Linked DNA regions of Homo sapiens: region 1 is linked to region 2. Evidence: promoter capture Hi-C in 16 types of primary human blood cells and fetal thymus (Javierre and others, 2016). All regions are on one chromosome and are shown on one strand. Each heading gives the region's core, a stretch centred on a gene start or on the middle of the fragment in contact. The rest is flanking DNA. Distances are from core to core; before and after follow the strand shown. Region 1 holds the start of AARS1 (alanyl-tRNA synthetase 1). Region 2 holds the start of ZNF821 (zinc finger protein 821).

Region 1 (5,715 bases), core at 2,196-4,695, 1.6 Mb after region 2:
TATTTTTAGTAGAGATGGGGTTTCACCAGGTTGACCAGGCTGATTTTGAACTCCCAACCTCAGGTGATCTGCCCGCCTCGGCCTCCCAAAGTGTTGGGATTACAGGCATGAGCCACTGTGCCTGGCCTGTTGTTTCACTCTGCGGCCCAGGCTGGAGGGTAGTGGGGCAATCACAGCTGTTGTACTATTTCAGTTCTTTGGTTATCTTTCTCATGCCCCAAGATGGAGTTCAACAAATGTTCTACTGGAGAGCAAGCCATGTGCATATCGCTCACTCCCACCTACAGGCCTATTTGCTTAGCCTAGAGTAAATCAAGAACTTGCCAGTAGTTTCCTAAAATACATAATTTGCACATTGCATTAAGATAGCATTCTTTCTAGCATGTAGTTGACATCTACAAGAGAAAAATATCACAGAAAAATATCATTAGATAATTATATTAGAATGAGACTTTTGGGCCTCAATTACAATTTCTTTCTTTTTTTTGTTTTAAGAGACAAGGGGGCCGGACGCGATGGCTCACGCCTGAAATCCCAACACTTTGGGAGGCCAAGGCAGGCGAATCACCTGAGGTCGGGAGTTCAAGACCAGCCTGGCCAACATGGCGAAACCCTCATCTCTACTAGAAATAGAAGAAAAAAAAATAACTGGGCGTGGTGGTGGCGCCTGTAATCTCAGCTACTCGGGAGGCTGAGCCAGGAGGCAGATGTTGACATGAGCCGAGATCATGCCATTGCACTCCAGCCTGGGCAACAAGAGTGAAACTCTGCCTCAAAAAAAGGAAAAAAAAAGAGAGAGAGACAAGGGTCTTGCTTTGTTGCCCAGGCTGGAGTGCAGTCGCGAGATCTCAGCTCACTGAAGCCTTCAGCTTCTGGGCTCCAAGTGATTCTCCTTCCTCAGCCTCTTGAGCAGCTGGGACTACAGGCGAATGCCACCACGCCTAGCTAATTAAAAAGAATTTTTTTTTTTTAACAGAGTCTCACTATGTTGCCTAGGCTGGTTTCAAACACTTGGGCTCCATTGATCCTCCTGCCTTGGCCTCCCAAAGTGTTGGGATTACAGGTGTGAGTCTCTGTGCTGGCCTACAATCTCTCTTAATGGGTGAATAAAAAATTCTTATTTATTTATTTATTTATTTTGAGACAAAGTCTCGCTCTGCGGCCCAGGCTGGAGTGCAGTGGCCTGATCTCGGCTCACTGCTAGCTCCGCCTCCCGGGTTCACGCCATTCTCCTGCCTCAGCCTCCAGAGTAGCTGGGACTACAGGCGCCCGCCACCACGCCCGGCTACTTTTTTTGTATTTTTTAGTAGAGACGGGGTTTCGTCGTGTTAGCCAGGATGGTCTCAATCTCCTGACCTCATGATCTGCCTGCCTAGGCCTCCCAAAAGTGCTGGGATTACAGGCATGAGTCACCACGCTAGGCCAAAAAATTATTTTAATCTGTTTATAATTATTTTATTAATGAAGGTACTATCCTAGTAACAACTCTGGCAGCAGAACTAAATTATTGAGATTACAACCTGTATTATTTTATTCTGAAAGTACAATTCATACATACCTTTTGGCTTTCTATTTTAAGTGTGGTGGCTTAGAAGTCTGACTCATTTCCCAGATTGTTTAAGCTAAATATATGTTATTTAGGGCACTGTGGATCAGAATAAACACTTGTGTCTCCTGGTTTTGCCCTCAGCTGTGTTACTTAACCTCTCTCTCTGCCTTATTTTACTCTGTTAAAAGCAGATAGTAGTAGTAACTCATGATAAGGTTGTGAGGATTAAAAGCTTAGATTGGTGCCTGCTGTATACTAAGTGCTCAATAAATGGTAGGTTTGATGATTACTATTTGTGAGCAGCTATGAAGTGGGAAAGTAAATCAAATGATTTATGTTTTTACTGGCTTTTGGGCTTGACCTTCTTTTTGTGTAGGATGCTCTTTTTGCATAAAAAGTAGTATTTTTCTGTATTGTCTGTAACTTGAGTTATGACCAGCAGCACAATTTATTACCCGTGTATTTGGATATATCAGATGATGGAGGTAATAGTGCAGTGGTTAAGAGCATGGGCTTTGGAGTTAAATAGACACAGGTTTGGATCCTGTCTCCACAACTTACTATTGGGTGTGAACTTGTGCAAGGTAATTTCCTCATTTGTAAAAAGGGGACTCCAGCTGACCTCATACACAGTTTAAAAATCAAATGAAATAAGCATGTGAAATGTTTGATGCAATGCCTCACGTATAAATACATACATATTTTTCAGACAGGGCCTCGCTCTGTCGCCCAAGGAATGCAGTGTCACGATCAGGGCTCACTGCAGCCTCAACTTCCTAGGCTCAAGTGATCCTCCCACTTCAACCTCCCAAGTAGCTGGGACTACAAGCATGCGCCACTATGCCTGGCTAATTTTTATTTTTTATTTTTTTTTTTGAGACGGAGTCTTGCTCCGTAGCCAGGCTGGAGTGCAGTGGCGCCATCTCGGCTCACCGCAACTTCCGCCTCCCGAGGTCAAGGGATTCCCTTGCCTCAGCCTCCCGAGTGGCTGGGACTACAGATGCGCGCCCGGCTAATTTTGTGTTTTTAGTAGAGACGGGGTTTCACCATGTTGGCCAGGATGCTCTCGGTCTCCTGACCTCGTCATCCGTTGGCCTCAGCCTCCCAAAGTGCTAGGATTACAGGTGTGGGCCACCGCGCCCGGCCTTTTAAAAAATTTTTCGTAGAGACAGGGTCTAGTTATGTTGACCAGGCTGGTCTCCAACTCCTGGGTTCAGGTGATCTTCCCACCTTGGCCTCCCAAAGTGTTGCAATTATAGGCGTGAGCCACCGCACCTGGCATGTATATATGTATATGTATATATATATATTCACCCTCCTCCCCCAGGCCTATAAATATTAACTTTTTTTTTTCCAAAGGCAAATCGAGGACCAGATGCTGATCCAATCGTACCTGAACTACTGATGTTATTTCTTCCACACCAAATTCAAGGTCTCCCCCGGACAAGTGTAACCATGGGCACAATGTCAGACTCTTTGAGGGCTGTGTATCACTCAGCAACTAAAATAAACAACTATAGCAAGATATGTAACCTCTACCAAACACGTTACCGTCTCCCCTTTTTAACTATGTCAATTGTGGTGTTAGGACTTTGCCTATGGAAACCAAAATGTCGACCTCCGGGAGCCGGGGGCGGGGGGGGGCGGGGGGGGCGGGGGGGGGTCTAACTCGATCATGTGACGCACCCCATCCCACCTTTTCTCGCAGTTGCATCAGCCAAGTTAGAGCCGCCTTCCCAGGAATCCACTAATGAACGGATTCGTCCTCAGTTTGACTGGCATGTTGGTTGACCAATAATATCTCATGAGGTAAGGCGCGGCGGGGCACTTTCCGTCGGCGCGCTCTGATTGGACGGAGCGTGGCGGGTTGTGGTAGGTCGTGGTCTGAGGCCGGTACAGCTGCGCGTCTGCGGGAATAGGTGCAGCGGGCCCTTGGCGGGGGACTCTGAGGGAGGAGCTGGGGACGGCGACCCTAGGAGAGGTAGGCCGCCCTCGGAGAGCTCTGCGGTGCTAGGAGAGCGGCTGGGCCCGCAGACTGGGGGGAAAGCTCCGCAGCCGCAGTGGGCCCCAGGATCAGGCCCCGCGTGGCCTGGAGAAGCCCAGTCTGGGCTGGAGCGGGAGCTGGACAGTGTGGCCTTGCGTTCGCCCCCGGGAGCGCTGCGAGTGTCGCGGCCTCGGGTGGATTTGCTGAGCACCAATACCTCACGGTTGCCAACCTGGGGTTTTAGCTCCCTTGGTTTTAATCCCCTAGGGGCGGGTGGGGGCACGGGAGGAAGGATGGGCCAGCTGGGTGCAATCCTGCTGTAAGCCAGCCATTCCTTGATTTCTTAAAATTAACTAAACAGCTGATGCCGGTCCAGGCGCACCGAGACCGTCATCTTAAGCTGTTCTGTAAAACAGTTTGTATTTCTCGGTGTGCTTTGAAGCATGTGAGTTAATTCCGAACTTGGTGTTAAAGGATTAGTATACCTGATCACGAAATACGTATTTAGCAGCCACTGTACTAGATGCTGAGGATGTGCTGTAATAGCCCAGGGCCAGGCGCGGAGGCTCACGCCTGTAATCCCAGCGCTTTGGGAGGTCGAGGCGGGCGGATCACCTGAGGTCAGGGGTTCGAGACTAGCCTGGCCAACATGGTGAAACCCCGTCTTTACTAAAAATACAAAAATTAGCCGAGCGTGGCGGCGCGCGCCTGTACTCTCAGCCACTCCGGAGGCTGAGGCATGAGAATCGCTTGAACCCGGCAGGCGGAGGTTGCAGTGAGCTGAGATCACACCATTGCACTCCAGCCTGGGTGACAGAGGGAGACTCCGTTTCAAAAAAAAAAAAAAAAAAAGAGCCCAGAACAGTCGTTGCTGCTGGGATGGAACTGACAGCCTGATGGGGGAGGCGCACATTAAACAATCCATGAAGCGCGTATGGAAATTATGAAGGGAAACACTTGAGGCTGTGAGACAGTAAAAGAGGGGGAGCCTTATCAAGAAGGGGAAGGCGGCCGGGCGCGGTGGCTCACGCCTGTAATCCCAGCACTTGGGGAGGCCGAGGTGGGCAGATCACGAGGTCAGGAGATTGAGACCATCCTGGCTAACACGGTGAAACCCCATCTCTACCAAATATACAAAAATAGCCGGGCGTGGTGACTGGCGCCCGTAGTCCCAGTAGTCCCAGCTACTCGGGAGGCTGAGGCAGGAGAATGGCGTGAACCCGGGAGGCGGAGCTTGCAGTGAGCTGAGATCGCGCCACTGCACTCCAGCCTGCGCAACAGAGCGAGACTCCGTCTCAAAAAAAAAAAAAAAAAAAAAAGAAGAAGGGGAAGGCTGTCTTAAATAAGTGTCTTGGCCGGGCGCGGTAGCTCACCCCTGTAATCCCAGCACTTTGGGAGGCCGAGGCGGGCAGATCGCCTGAGGTCAGGAGGTCGAGACCAGCCTGACCAACATGGAGAAACCCCGTCTCTACTAAAAATACAAAATTAGCTAGGTGTGGTGGCACATGCCTGTATTCCCAGCTACTCAGGAGGCTGAGGCAGGAGAATCGCTTGAAGCCGGGAGGTGGAGATTGCGGTGAGCCGAGGTTGCGCACCATTGCACTCCAGCCTGGGCTACAAGAGCGAAACACCGTCTCAAAAAAAAGAAAAAGTGTCTTTACGTTTGTTGTTGTTTGAGTCAGGGTCTCACCCTGTTACCTAGGCTGGAATGTTTTGGTGTGACCATAGCTCACTGCAGCCTCAAACTTATGTGCTCAAGCGACCCTTTGGACTCAGCCTCCCGAGTAGCTGGGTCTGCAGGTGCACACCACCACACCTGGCCAATTAAAAAAAAAATTGACCTCCCAGGCTCAGGTGTTCCCATGTTGCCCAGGCTGGTCTTGAATTCCTGGCCTCAAGCAATCCTCCTGTTTCAGCCTCCCAAAGTGACAGAGCGAGACCTGTGTGTAAAGCCTGGGTGACAGAGCGAGACCTGCCTCAAAAAAAAAGTTGAAACAGGTCTCGCTTTGTCACCCAGGCTGGAGTGCAATGGCATGATCTCGGCTCGCTGCAGCCACCGCCTCCCAGGTTCAAGCAATTCTCCTGACTCAGCCTCCCAAGTAGCTGGGATTACAGGCGCCCGCTACCATGCCCAGCTAATTTTTTTTTTTTTTTTTTTTTTTTGAGACGGAGTCTCGCTCTG
Region 2 (5,428 bases), core at 929-3,428:
TTTCACTATGTGGCCCAAGCTGGCCTCAAACACTTGGGCTCAAGTCATCATACCATCTCAGCCTCCTGAGTAGCTGGGACTATAGGTGCCAGCCACCATGCCTAACTTAAACTAATTACGTATTTAATAATTTTTTCATTATTTGGTTGTAACCTTGAATCACAACACCTCTGAGAAATTTTTAGAGCACAGGGAAGTCATAAGAATAGCATTATTATCATCTCATTTTATTTGGAAGTCAAGGAGATGGAATAAGCTGCCCAACATTACATAATAATAATGCATCCAAGAAATTTCACTGGAGGCAAACTTTACCTGTTTGCTACTTTTCTGTTGAAAATGTCAACTAAGTCAGCTTTAAAGTGACATAATAAAGCCATACTTGTATCCCTCAGTCCAAACTGATCAAGAATTACTGTTAAATATAAAAGCCAGTGTGTATTCTAGGTTGTATTCTTACACAAAATAGTACAAACACTTGCGGGTTGGATGATAATATTCCATTTTCTGTCTACTTGGAAACTAAGTTTTTAAATGAAATTAAAATGTTTCCTTGACTGAAGTTAAACAACAATAATTGCTATCTAAGTATCCTAATCACAATAAATAAATGAGTGAATGATGAATGAGCTATTTATCACAGAATTGTGAAGGACCAAGATCCCTCAATGTAATCATTCTATTACATTGAACACAAGATGCAGACAATGAGATCATCTCATAAAAGATTTAGGGGAAAGACAATTTGCAAGAATGTTCTATGCAAATACCAGGACTTGTCACTTTATCAGCAAATGACAGCATCCTCGTTAGCCCTGCCTTTGTGCAGCCAGTAATCACGAAAAACATTTGCATGATGCTTTTAGCCATTTGTTTTACTTAACTGGCACAACAACCCTCGGAGAGTAAAGGCCAGGAATTATTGCATCATTATCCATTTGACATCTTAGGAAGCAGAGGCTCAGAACAGGGAAGTGACTTGCCCAAAGTCAACAGGCTGGTGGGTGGCAGAGCTGGGGCTCAAAGCCAGATCTTCTAATACCAGATCTCATCTTCTTTCCTCTGCATTCCCTGCTTCTCCAGGTAAGCGATGCCAGGGCAGGCTCAGGCATTCTAGAAGAGAGGAAGAAAAGAAGGCAACAGGAACTAGGAGAGAGAAGGACGTGGACAGGAGGAGGTGTTTGACTAGAAGTGCGTCCAACCAGGCCGGGCACAGTGGCTTACGCCTGTAATCCCAGCACTTTGAGAGGCCGAGGCGGGAGGATCACCTGAGGTCAGGAGTTCGGGACCAGCCTGGCCAACATGGTGAAACCCCGTCTACTAAAAATACAAAAATTAGCTGGGCGTGGTGGTGCACGCCTGTAGTCCCAGCTACTCGGGAGGCTGAAGCACGAGAATCGCTTGAACCTGGGAGGCGCAGGTTGCAGTGAGCGAAGATCGCGCCATTGCATTGCAGCCTGGGTGACAGAGCGAGACTCTGTCTCAAAAAAAAAAAAAAAAAAAAGGTCCAACGGCTCTCCATTGCCCCCAAACATCCCTCAAGTGACAACAGTGCCACAAGTTCCCCTGCCCCTGGGTCTGCAGCCAATGTTATTTTATCAGTTGAGAATCATGTCAGAAAATTAAATACTCAAAAGAAATCTCAAGATTTCCCAGCTCTGAGGTTCTGACAGCTGAACTTGGCCCCTCCCACCAAGGCCCGTGGTCACATTCAAAGCCTCGGGAGCCGAAGCCACCGCGAAGCGTGGGGGAATGAGGCGAAGAGGGTTTGTGACGGTGGTGGGGATCCGGGCTAAGGAGAGGGGGTGCCTGCGGCGGAGCTGTGGTTGGGGGTTGTGGGTTTTGTGGCTGAACTCGATGGTGGGGTAAGAAACCAGGATCGGGGCTGGGTAGGGTGGCGTTTACACGTCCAGGAAGGTCTGGGGGAGCTGAGCGGCTGAGACAGCCAGAGAAAGACCCGGGAATGGGCGAGGCGGGGGGTTCCGGAGCCCTGGAACGCGGGCGAGCCCCTCTCGGGCGCCCGGGATTGGGCGCTCCCCGGAGCCCCTCCTCTCCAGAGCCCCTCTCCTCAGGCCCCGCCCACAACGCCAGGCGCGCGCCGGGCCGCGGGGAAGGGGACCTGGCCGGCGCGGGGGAGGGGGAGAGGGAGGCTCGTGCACGCGCCTCACTAGCTGCGGGTGCGCGAGCCGCGCGCTCCCGCCGCCCGCGTCGCCATCTTTTTCCCCCTCCGTCTGTCTGTCTGCTGTTGGCTTTGTCCGTCTGCAGCGCCGCCCCTCGGCTCCCCGCCACCGGCTCGGCTCGGCCCGGAGCCCCTTCCGCTCGCCGGGGCCCAGTCCCGGAGCGCCCCGGCCCGGCTGGCTTGGGCTGCGGTCCCGGGTCCATTGTCCGGCGGTCCGTCTGTCCGGAGGCGGGGCCCAGGGACCCAGAGCGCAGCGCAGCGCCGAGGCGCCGGGTAAAAAGACCCCCTGCCCTCCCTCCGGGTCCGGGCTGGGGATGCGGGCTCCTCGCCCCCTCGCGGCCGCCGGCTGTTGGTCCTTTTGTCTGCACTGGGGAGAGGGCCGGGGGCCAGCTCCGGCCTAGGGGGGCAGCCCGGGCTCACCCTCCCCGCTTCCAACCCCAATTCCTCCCCGGCCGCTCCTCCTGCTGCCCCTTGGCGCTCTCGGGCGCGGGGCGCGGGGTGCGGGGCCGGGGGGCTTTTGCGCGGGCCGCGGGCACCCCGCCTCCTCGGGCCCCGGCGGGGACGGCCCCGGCGTCTGACAGCCTTGGGTGGAGCTGGGGGAGGGGAGGATGGGCGTGGGCGTGCAGACCGGGGGGTATCAGTCCCCGCGTCTGGGTCTCGCAGAAAAGCTTCTAAATTTAGATTTCGGAGATTGTGTTGTCTAAGGGTTTGTCTGAGCCGCCTCGGAAGACCTCCGGCTCTTGTCAGGCTCTTGTCTGGTAATTCCTGGGAATTTACCTGGGCTCATGCTTGAAGAAGCAGAGGGACCATCTCGGCTGATTAGACACGCCCCAGACCCAACCCCAGGGGTCAGGTGAACAGCCAGGCGGCTAAGTGACCAGCTTTCTTGTCCTCTCCTTTTTGGCAGATACAGATCACTTGGATTCAGTCGAGTTTGCTTTGCTCCGTGGGAACTGCACCAGAGCTGGAGGTGGGAACGCACTCTCTTTTCATCAAGCTGAGATTTCACTCGTTTTTTTTCTTGCCAAAGTCTGTGGTGTGCCCTAGACGCTGCAACCTAATACCTGTGGGAGAGCAGAGACAGTGTTCAGGGGAGACGTTGCACCTTCCCGAGGACTCTTAACCTTGCTCTGAAGACAGACAGAACTGCTTTCCTTTTAAAATGGAATCCCTTTAGACCTGAATCTCACCGTTTACCTGTCTTCCCAGCCCATGTTCAGGCAGCTATCTATTTACATTTTTGGTTTGGTTTGGTTTCAGGTTTTGGCTTGGAAATTGAGGCAGTGTTAAAAGTAAAACAAAATGAGTGACCTTTAGGGCTGTATGTCTCTGGGTTTTATTAGCTTTAACTGCCTATAAAACAAGTCATCTGGCCTCTGAGATCTTGCTTTGTGGTCAAGAGTGTCCTTTCAGCGCCATTTATTTATTTACTTATTGATTTTCAACAGCCCATGACCCCACAGGCCTGTTTTTGTGGGTGTTTTTGTTATTATTTTCGTTTCGTTGTGTGGGAGGGGACTGTAATTGCTTATTTTTCTCTTGATCACTCAGGTGTGAAGTCCCATTGGGTACCATCTGGTCAGTTCCCCATTTGGCCACTAGGAGGATTATAAGATGCAGCGGGCATTGCTGATTTAAATACGCAGACACTCATCTCTGTCTTTTGACTTGGAGCTTTAATATTGAAATGTTGTCTGGTTCAAATTATTTGGCCTTCCTTCAGAAGGGACTTTATTACCTTTATCTTACAGTTTCAGTTTCTGATCTTGAAGGGAGAAAATATAAAAATTAGTCAAGATTCTGTTTTTTCTTCTATAATAGAGTATATATATATTTAGCCTCAATAGATTATCACATTAGAGGAGTATATTTTATTTTTTTAAATTTTTATTTATCTTTTTTTTTTTTTTTTGAGACGGAGTCTCGTTCTGTCGCCCAGGCTGGAGTGCAGTGGTGCGTTCTTGGCTCACTGCAACCTCCGCCTCCCGGGTTCAAGCAATTCCCTGCCTCAACCTCCTGAGTAGCTGAGATTACAGACATGCATCACCACGCCCAGCTAGTTTTTGTATTTTTAGTACAGACGGGGTTTCACCATGTTGGCCAGGCTGTTCTCAAACTCCCGACCTCAGGTGATCCACCCGCCTCAGCCTCCCAAAGTGCTGGGATTACAGGCGAGAGCCACCGCCCATGGCAGTTTTTTATCTTTTTTTGAGATGGAGTCTCACTCTGTTGCCCAAGCTGCAGTGTAGTGCCTCCATCCCAGCTCACTGCAACCTCCCCTCCCCAGGTTCAAGCGATTCTCATGCCTCAGCTTCCCGAGTAGCTGGAATTTACAGGTGTGCACCACCATGCCCAGCTAATTTTTGTATTTTTATTAGAGGTTTCCCCATATTGGCCAGGCTGGTCTCAAACTCCTGGCCTCAAGTGATCTGCCTGCCTTGGCCTCCCAAAGTGTTGGGATTACAGGCGTGAGCCACGGTGCCTGGCCATATTTTTAAAAATATTAATAGAGCCTGCATTTCATTACCTTTCCACTTGGTGATTCCACACACATATAGGAAATCCAAAGTGTGATATTCATTCACTGCTTCCGTGAATAAAACAACTACTTGATTAGAAAAAAATGACATACACAAAACTTAGAGAACATACACTATCAGCACTCAGTATATTGCCCTCTAAATAGTTTAAATTGATTTTTATTGTATACATTTAGAGTTTTGTTTTGTTTTGTTTTTAATTAAAGGTCTGAAAAAGAACTGTGTTTGATATGCAGATATGCTAGAAGACTGCCTGAAAGCTGCTTCCTTTGCCACTTCCTGTGGAGGCCTGTCTTTGCCATTTGCGGTTTCTTTATTCTTTTGGTAAGGGGAGGCAGGATCTGATTATAGGTTTGAGGTCCTTCTAGCTACATAGAGGAGTTAGTTGGCATAACAGGAGGTGAGTCTTCATTAACTGGAGTACAAAATATAGCTAGCAGTAGTCTCCCATAACTCCTCTTAAGGCAATAAACTATGATTTTATGTTTGCTTATTCAATGTGAGTATAACTCAAGAAGGCAGGAACTGAAAGAAAACTTAAGAGTGTGACCAGATCCATATTCCTGTCTTTGGTAGGAAAGACAATCCCTTTTTATTCTATGTCTTTATTCACTCTTTCTAAGAAAATGACACAGCTATCAATACTAATCCATCTCAGATTCTCTAACAATGCTTAAGGCTGGGGCACTCTTTCTGTAGTTAATCAGGA

What was found. Contacts are between HindIII fragments. The CHiCAGO score rates a contact against its expected background, and 5 or more counts as called.
Region 1: the fragment with the promoter of AARS1 here is called in contact with the fragment with the promoter of ZNF821 in region 2 in 1 of 17 cell types (M0 macrophages); the score reaches 6.4 in M0 macrophages.

Annotation. Positions count from the first base shown.
Region 1 is chr16:70,287,236-70,292,950 of GRCh38, reverse strand. AARS1 (alanyl-tRNA synthetase 1) reads left to right here and starts at 3,445. Exons shown (of 21, transcript NM_001605.3): 1 at 3,445-3,530. It also overlaps a transcript of DDX19B not described here. RefSeq lists a silencer at 4,100-4,229. The HindIII fragment of the contact is 11,417 bases long and covers 1,784-5,715 here.
Region 2 is chr16:71,880,932-71,886,359 of GRCh38, reverse strand. ZNF821 (zinc finger protein 821) reads left to right here and starts at 2,178. Exons shown (of 8, transcript NM_001201552.2): 1 at 2,178-2,452; 2 at 3,087-3,149. RefSeq lists enhancers at 812-1,312, 3,153-3,352 and silencers at 1,893-2,652, 2,673-2,792. The HindIII fragment of the contact is 5,845 bases long and covers 1-2,849 here.